Linked DNA regions of Homo sapiens: region 2 is linked to region 1. The links are contacts of gene promoters, found by promoter capture Hi-C in human tissues and cell types (Jung and others, 2019). All regions are on one chromosome and are shown on one strand. Each heading gives the region's core, a stretch centred on a gene start or on the middle of the fragment in contact. The rest is flanking DNA. Distances are from core to core; before and after follow the strand shown. Region 1 holds the start of TAF4B (TATA-box binding protein associated factor 4b). Region 2 overlaps ZNF521 (zinc finger protein 521).

Evidence for each region. Contacts are between HindIII fragments. The study calls those that stand out against the background at their distance.
Region 2: a fragment that was not itself captured here is called in contact with the fragment with the promoter of TAF4B in region 1 in 1 of the 25 tissues and cell types used here (dorsolateral prefrontal cortex).

What each region holds. Positions count from the first base shown.
Region 1 is chr18:26,224,711-26,229,201 of GRCh38, reverse strand. TAF4B (TATA-box binding protein associated factor 4b) reads right to left here and starts at 2,757. Exons shown (of 15, transcript NM_005640.3): 1 at 1,926-2,757. The coding sequence starts at 2,268. RefSeq lists a silencer at 2,118-2,277 and enhancers at 2,928-3,027, 3,058-3,127. The HindIII fragment of the contact is 12,633 bases long and covers 1-4,491 here.
Region 2 is chr18:25,223,812-25,228,381 of GRCh38, reverse strand. ZNF521 (zinc finger protein 521) reads left to right here. Exons shown (of 8, transcript NM_015461.3): 4 at 685-4,037. Among named protein-coding and RNA genes, the nearest start is that of ZNF521, 130 kb to the left of the region's middle. RefSeq lists an enhancer at 1-12. The HindIII fragment of the contact is 6,812 bases long and covers 1-4,570 here.

The DNA.
Region 1 (4,491 bases), core at 1,508-4,007:
ATAATTAGACTATGGTCCTAGTATGCTATTATTTTAACTCTGCCAAGTTTCAGTTTTGGTTCCTTGGTATATAAAATAAAAGACTGGAATCTAAAGTTCTCTGAATCACCTTTCAGTACTGACACTCAATGAGGCATACCGTACACATACAAGTAAAAAAATAAGCATAGCGTTGTGGAAAGAATAAACAGACCTGAGCTAAAACTCCCCCGACACCTATGGGTTGCCTGGCATTGGACAAATTATTTACTCTTAGAGACCTCTTTCCTTATTTGCTACCTACCTATTATGACCAACAAATAAAAGAATATAAATAATTTGTTAAAAGTGCTTAGCATGATAAGGCCCCAATCCTCCAGTAAGTGATTCACTCTCACTTACCAGCAAATTTTCACTCTTGACAGTTCTTTCTTTGGGGGGTTGGGGAGGGATGGGGAGGAACAGAGTCTCACTCTGTTGCCTGGGCTGGAGTGCAGTGGCAAGATATCTTGGCTTACTGCAACCTCCACCTCCCGGGTTCAAGCGATTCTCGTGCCTTAGCCTCTCAGACAGTTCTTTCTTAATACTTTTTTTTTTTGACTATTTATAAACAAACTTCAGTGACTAGACAGGATTTACAGTTTAACAAATTAGGGGGTAATTTCATTCTAACACATTCAGAACTACTTTATAAACATATATGCAGAATAACAACTCAGAATAACAATTTAGAACTGCCAAATAATGTATTCGGTGCTGCACACTGCCGTAACAGTGCCTTAACAATTTTACATACCTTGTATACCATATAAAACTGAAACAGAACTTCATAAAAAGTGAAATCTATCCACAACGTGTATGACTAACTACAACATTAGATACAAAAAGGGTCCCTGTCATTTTATTAGGGGATATAGAATCTTTTGAATCAATGCTTCCCCTTTTTTACCATCTTTGCAGTTCAGAGTTCCAATTACTGCTAAACAAAATTAACAGAAAGCAAACTCCAAGAGACTTTCAGTAAAGAAAGGCTGAACACCCCAAAATCATTCAGCATATTTACAATATGTAAATTATCACAAAGCAAAACCTTTATACAAACCATGAAATACAGCCCAATAGAGTAAAAAGCCCTAGGATAGAAAGTAGTGAAAGACTCATTAACAGTAGCGTTGACACATGGCTTCAATTGCAACTGTAACAATTGCATGACTGATCTGTTTGTCAACTGTGGCACGTGTTCCCAGTCAGGGGTTCTGCTAATTGAAAGTTAGAATCATAAGACATTTAAAGATTGTGCAGGAACAGCATTATTCGTACTTGGTACTAGAAAGCAGTAAACCGATTCTGACTTGGTTAAATTTAAAAATCTCTTTCAGTTGTAATACACAAGAACTTCACTGTTAGGCCGTACGCGGTGGCTCACGCCTGTAATCCCAGCACTTTGGGAGGCCGAGGCGGGAGGATCGATTGGGCCCAGGAGTTCGACGTCGGTGAGCCATGATCGTGTCACTGCACTCCAGACTGGGCGACAGAGCGAAACCATACCTCATTCGTTCATTCATTCATTCATAATTAATAAAATAAGTACAACGCACTTCTACATAATCTAAGCGTATGGAAATCCACGGTATAAACCGGTCCATCCTCCACATGGAAATTAACTTCGGCTATATTATCTCCTCCACCTAAGAGCCAGTGCCTGAAAGCCCCCCCGAATACGCTGATGTAGCTTTTTACTGTATCACTTAGGTGAAAAGATTCTTTCCTTAAATATGAAAAGAAAAACTATGTAGTAATGACACAAAAAGAATATGTTAACTGTAAAGTCAAGATTATGAAATGTTCCCGTGGCTCAGTTTTTTTAGGAGCAATCTGGAGCTGCGAATTTTCCCGTCGCCGCCAGCTGGACCGACAGACAAGGCTGGAAAGGGTTATCAACATACCTGGAGGAAGCTGCAAATTAGCAGGAAACTGGATTGTCGTGGTGTTGGGGGCTTTCACGGCGACTATCTGAGGAGCAGGCAGCCTAGGGCCGCTGCTGACTTTAGGAGGGGCGCTGACCGGAGCCACTTTGGTCACCAGGGTCCCCACGGGGGACCGCAGGGGCTGGGACGCCGTGGGCTCCACGCAGACGCTGACAGGAGCCTTAGTCACGGCGCCCAGGGCCACCGGAGTGCTCTCCACCCGCACCGGCAGCGCCCCGGCCGGGGCCATGGTCACGGTCCCCGAGGCGCTCACAGCAGCCGGGGGAGCGGCGCCGGCGGGTTCGGTGAGGCCGGCGGGCATCCCCCAGGGGCTCAGCGGCAGCTTTGGCGCTGCGGTTCCGGGAGCAGAGGTGAGGGGAGGCTTGGCGCGCGGCAGCCGACTCCGGTGCGGTTCGGGTTCCACAGCATCGCTGGGGAGAGGCGCGGGGGCCGCAGCAGCGAAGTCAGTGACGGGCGCCCGCTGCACGGCAGGACACGCGCGTCCCGGACCTTCCTCTCGTCCGCGCGAGCCTGGGCTGCCCCCGGAGCGACACCCGCCCGACCTCTCGCAGCTTCCTCAGCGGCGCTCACACGTGCGCTGCCTCAGCCCTGCGCCTCAGGCTCGGGTCCCGCTGCGGGGGAGCCTGGACTTGCGGCTCCCGGAAGGTCGTCGCTCACACCTCGAGCCTAACTGCGCAGCTGCTCCCCCGCCAGAAATTTCAAAACTACGAACCCCGAGTGCCCACAGCCCCCTACGCGCGATTGGCACGGCCCCGCCGCGCGGCCACGCCAGCCATGTTTATATAGCCACGCGGAGACCTCGCGCACGCGCCCAGGCCGCCGCCACCGCCCCGGGTTTCCCCGGGATCCGGCCGCGTGATTGGCCAAGGAGCGGAGCCGCGCCCGTGACGTCACTGGGGACGGCTCCAGGGAGCGTTAAAATCTTCCCCAGAATCGCCAGCAAGGAGGGGCGATGCCAGAAACCTATCACGTGGGAGGGGCAAGCTGCACTTGGAAAACTGCGGCATCCGTGTTCCTCTCCTTGTGTCCCCTGTAGTGTGTTCCTCGAAAAGCCAGCACTAGACTATCTCCAGGATTCTATTTTTTAAGGAGAAAATGGGGAGGACTGATTTCCGAGAAGAGTGACTCAATAAGAATTCAATCACGCATTTTCAGTGTTTTTCTCTGCTGTCTTCACACTGAAGCGTTGCTAAAATTCGCAGTTAGAATTGACATTGTAAAAATTAAAATGGCGTATAGTTTTATAGTCTGTGAGATGTGCCTATTTTCATATTTTAGAGTTAAACTGCCTAAAATCTTAAATGGAAAATCGTTTCTTCTTTGGTGCTGCTATAGGTGTCTCTATCACCTCTAAACATTAAAATTGTATGTCTGTCTTCTGAAAAACTTAATGCCTTTTGATATCTATATAATTAGATTCTAGCACTTAGATATTAAGCGTGATCCTAGATATTATCTGGATAAATAAAAGGTGTTGAGTGAATCGATATGAAAAAACTTGCCTGTTTGTAATGCAGTCAGAGAAGATGCCTTAATTTCAAGCTAAAGTCATTATATTGTATGTTTGTAGGAACCAACACTGCACTGAAAGGCGATTTTACAAGTAGGCAGATGCTATGATCTGAATGTTGTGGTGTTTTGTTTTGTTTTGTTTTGTTTTGTTTTGTTTTGGAAACAGGATCTAACTCTGTCACCCAGGCTGGAGTGCAGTGGCACCATTGGCTCATTGCAGCCTCCACCTCCTGGGCTCAAGTGATCATCCTACCCTCCTACCTCAGATTCCCGAGTAGCTGGAACCACAGGGGAGCGGCACTATGCCTAGCAAAAACGGGATCTCGTTATATTGTCCAGGCTGGTCTCCAATTCCTGAGCTCCCGCCTGGGCCTCCCAAAGTGCTAGGATTATACCCCCAACTGAGTGTTAAAATGCTAAAGCTGGAGTTGATAATATTAGAAGGTTGGGCCTTTGAAAGGTGATTAGATCATAAGGGTGGAGCCCTCATGAATGGGATTCCATTCAGGACAAATCATGTTAAAGTGATGAATATGTTAACTTGATTTAATTATTTCACGACACATACAAATGTAACATGATACCTCATAAATACATACAATTATTATTTGTTAGTTAAATACATTAAATAAATAATTTTTTTAAAAAAAGAAACCTCAGAAAGATCCCTCACCCCTTCCAGCAAGTGAGGTTATGGTAAAAAGACTGCTGTCTAGAAAGTAGACTCTCATCAGATACCACATCTGCCTTGATCTTGAACTTCCCAACCTCTGGAATTATGGGACATGAATTTCTCTTTTTATAAGCTACCCAGTTTATGATATTTCATTATAGAAGCCCGAGTGGACTAAAATAGCAGGCAACCTGATGGTTACAGCTCCTGCTTTTCCCCCTCTCTGTAAACGTGTGCCGGCACGTTTAGATAAGATCTACTCACAAGATCTAGTAAAGTCCACACACTTACTACCTTTACTGTCTCTCACTTCTTGACCAGTCTAAATCCATCTCATGA
Region 2 (4,570 bases), core at 1,805-4,304, 1.0 Mb after region 1:
CTATGGAATTCGAATTTCAGTTATTGAAGAAATCCTGGTTATCTTTCATTACACAAGACATAATTATTATTGTGTTTTCTGTCTTCTTTCATGTGCTTACTTTTTAATATTTTTTTGCTGAAAGCAATAAGGTCTGTATCAATAAGAACCCCGTAACAGATTTTGGTCTGCAGAATTGCCTTTTTATATAAAAACAAGCAAAATGCAGAGGGAATTTTTTATTAAATATTAGACATCTGGGTTGACTGCATTAATTTTAAATCATTCCCGTAATATTTCCTCTTTTCATTTGGTTCTTCAGATGCTCACATAATATGCAAATCATTTTAGAAGGAATACAAAAGAAACATTAAATATATTAAAATCTGCATTTTAATAAAATTGTCAATGTGTAATATATACCTTGCTTCTAAGGAAGAATGATAAAAAGTAATAAAAGGGTAATTTAGACATAGAACTATTTAATATCCTCTTATATTTTACAACTCAACAAAAAGTAAATGCAGAATAACTGCTTTGGGCTCAGATTTGAAAATGTCTCACTCAAATATTCTCTCTTTTCATTTTGTTTTTTCTTGAAAGATTCAAGAGGGCCCAACTCTGCGTGCTGGTTGAAATGCTACGGTAAACTCACTCTTGAATCTCAACATGTCAGATGAAATTTGTCATTGCTTCTTGTTGCAGATGGAGTGGATGTTGAAGATGATCCGACTTGCTCTTGGCCAGCTTCCTCACCTTCTAGCAAGGATCAGACTTCCCCTAGCCATGGAGAAGGTTGCGATTTTGGAGAGGAAGAAGGTGGCCCTGGGCTTCCATACCCGTGTCAATTCTGTGACAAGTCGTTTAGCCGCCTCAGCTACCTAAAGCACCATGAGCAGAGTCACAGTGACAAACTGCCTTTCAAATGCACCTACTGCAGTAGGCTGTTCAAACACAAGCGCAGCCGAGATCGCCACATAAAACTCCACACCGGGGACAAGAAGTACCACTGCAGTGAATGTGATGCTGCGTTTTCCAGAAGTGATCACTTGAAGATCCACTTAAAGACTCACACGTCCAACAAGCCATATAAATGTGCCATTTGTCGCCGTGGGTTTCTGTCCTCTAGTTCCTTACACGGACACATGCAGGTTCATGAGAGGAACAAGGACGGCTCTCAGTCCGGTTCCAGGATGGAGGACTGGAAGATGAAGGACACTCAGAAGTGCAGTCAGTGTGAGGAAGGCTTTGACTTCCCGGAAGACCTCCAAAAACACATTGCAGAGTGCCACCCCGAATGCTCCCCAAATGAGGACCGAGCGGCCCTCCAGTGTGTCTACTGCCACGAGCTCTTCGTAGAGGAGACCTCCCTCATGAACCACATGGAGCAGGTGCATAGCGGGGAGAAGAAGAACTCATGCAGCATTTGTTCTGAGAGTTTCCACACAGTTGAGGAACTGTACAGCCACATGGACAGTCACCAGCAACCGGAGTCATGCAATCACAGCAACAGCCCTTCCCTGGTCACGGTGGGCTATACCTCCGTGTCCAGTACGACTCCAGATTCCAACCTCTCAGTGGACAGCTCAACCATGGTGGAAGCTGCCCCGCCAATCCCAAAGAGTCGAGGGAGGAAGAGGGCCGCTCAACAAACCCCTGACATGACTGGTCCCTCGAGTAAACAAGCAAAAGTTACCTACAGCTGTATTTACTGCAACAAACAATTATTTTCAAGTCTTGCAGTTCTGCAGATTCACCTGAAAACTATGCACTTAGATAAGCCAGAACAGGCCCATATTTGTCAGTATTGCTTGGAGGTCCTGCCCTCACTCTATAACCTAAATGAACATCTTAAGCAAGTGCATGAAGCTCAGGACCCAGGTCTGATTGTTTCTGCCATGCCTGCCATTGTCTACCAGTGTAACTTCTGTTCCGAAGTTGTCAACGACCTCAACACTCTTCAGGAACACATCCGATGTTCTCATGGATTTGCAAACCCTGCAGCTAAAGATAGTAATGCATTCTTTTGTCCCCATTGCTATATGGGGTTTCTCACTGACTCTTCCCTGGAAGAGCATATTAGACAGGTTCATTGTGACCTCAGTGGCTCCCGATTTGGGTCTCCAGTGCTTGGGACTCCCAAAGAACCAGTAGTAGAAGTCTATTCTTGTTCCTATTGTACAAATTCGCCAATATTCAACAGCGTTCTTAAACTGAACAAGCATATCAAAGAGAATCATAAAAACATTCCCTTGGCCCTGAATTATATCCACAATGGGAAGAAATCCAGGGCCTTAAGCCCCCTATCTCCTGTGGCCATAGAGCAGACATCTCTTAAGATGATGCAGGCAGTAGGAGGTGCACCTGCACGTCCCACTGGAGAATATATCTGTAATCAATGTGGTGCTAAGTACACATCCCTAGACAGCTTTCAGACTCACCTAAAAACTCATCTCGACACTGTGCTTCCAAAATTGACCTGTCCTCAGTGCAACAAGGAATTCCCCAACCAAGAATCCTTGCTGAAGCATGTTACCATTCACTTTATGATCACTTCAACGTATTACATCTGTGAGAGTTGTGACAAGCAATTCACATCAGTGGATGACCTTCAGAAACACCTGCTGGACATGCACACCTTTGTCTTCTTTCGCTGCACCCTCTGCCAGGAAGTTTTTGACTCAAAAGTCTCCATTCAGCTCCACTTGGCTGTGAAGCACAGTAACGAAAAGAAAGTCTATAGGTGCACATCTTGCAACTGGGACTTCCGCAACGAAACTGACTTGCAGCTCCATGTGAAACACAACCACCTGGAAAACCAAGGGAAAGTGCATAAGTGCATTTTCTGCGGTGAGTCCTTTGGCACCGAGGTGGAGCTGCAATGCCACATCACCACTCACAGTAAGAAGTACAACTGCAAGTTCTGTAGCAAAGCCTTCCATGCGATCATTTTGTTAGAAAAACACTTGCGAGAAAAACACTGTGTATTCGAAACCAAGACACCCAACTGTGGAACAAATGGAGCTTCCGAGCAAGTGCAGAAAGAGGAAGTGGAGCTGCAGACTTTGCTGACCAACAGCCAGGAGTCCCACAACAGTCACGATGGGAGCGAAGAAGACGTTGACACCTCTGAGCCTATGTACGGCTGCGACATTTGTGGGGCAGCCTACACTATGGAAACTTTGCTGCAGAATCACCAGCTCCGAGACCACAACATCAGACCTGGAGAAAGTGCCATCGTGAAAAAGAAAGCTGAGCTCATTAAAGGGAATTACAAGTGCAACGTGTGCTCTCGAACCTTCTTCTCCGAAAATGGCCTCCGGGAACATATGCAGACCCACCTAGGCCCTGTCAAACACTACATGTGCCCTATTTGCGGAGAGCGGTTTCCCTCCCTTTTAACTCTTACTGAACACAAAGTCACGCATAGTAAGAGTCTTGATACTGGAAACTGCCGGATTTGCAAGATGCCTCTCCAGAGTGAAGAGGAGTTTTTAGAGCATTGCCAAATGCACCCTGACTTGAGGAATTCCCTGACAGGCTTTCGCTGCGTGGTGTGCATGCAGACAGTGACCTCCACCTTGGAACTCAAAATCCATGGGACGTTCCACATGCAAAAGACAGGGAATGGGTCTGCAGTTCAGACCACAGGGCGGGGCCAGCACGTCCAAAAACTGTATAAGTGCGCATCTTGCCTCAAAGAATTCCGTTCCAAGCAAGATCTGGTGAAACTTGATATCAATGGCCTGCCATATGGTCTGTGTGCCGGCTGCGTGAATCTCAGTAAGAGCGCCAGCCCAGGCATTAACGTCCCTCCCGGCACGAATAGACCAGGCTTGGGCCAGAATGAGAATCTGAGTGCCATTGAGGGGAAAGGCAAGGTGGGGGGACTGAAGACACGCTGCTCTAGCTGCAACGTTAAGTTTGAGTCTGAAAGTGAACTCCAGAACCACATCCAAACCATCCACCGAGAGCTCGTGCCAGACAGCAACAGCACACAGTTGAAAACGCCCCAAGTATCACCAATGCCCAGAATCAGTCCCTCCCAGTCGGATGAGGTAACTCGCCTTTTTTAATGTTTGCTATTTAACCTCCTCAAGAAACGGTCCCTGCTTTATGTTTACACTCTCCACAGCTTTATTTATTGTCATGGGCCAAAAGATGCTTAGATTGAAATGCAGTGGGTTTCTTTTTCCCCCATAGCCATTAGCTAGCAATTACTTGCTTCTTGATAAGCAGCATTTTGGCTTGAATGGTGCAAAATAGGACTAATTCCAGTCTCCCTAGGATATTGTCTTCTCTATGACTGAAGAGACCAGCGCTCATGCCAACACTACTGAGATCTGGAATCTCAGCATAGCTTCACCGTGAGTTGAAATCCCCAGCTATGACTTGTGTGTATGGCAGAGAGATAATGACTCAAAAGTAAGATGCTATGAGCCACCATGCTGGCTTAGAGTAAATTAAAAAGAATATATATATTTGGGGATAACAAATTGGGTAGGGGTGGCTTTTTAATGCCATGTTGTCAACACTCACTGTTTTTCTTTGTCTTCTGGGTAGAGAGGAAAATACTTCCTCACAACAGGAT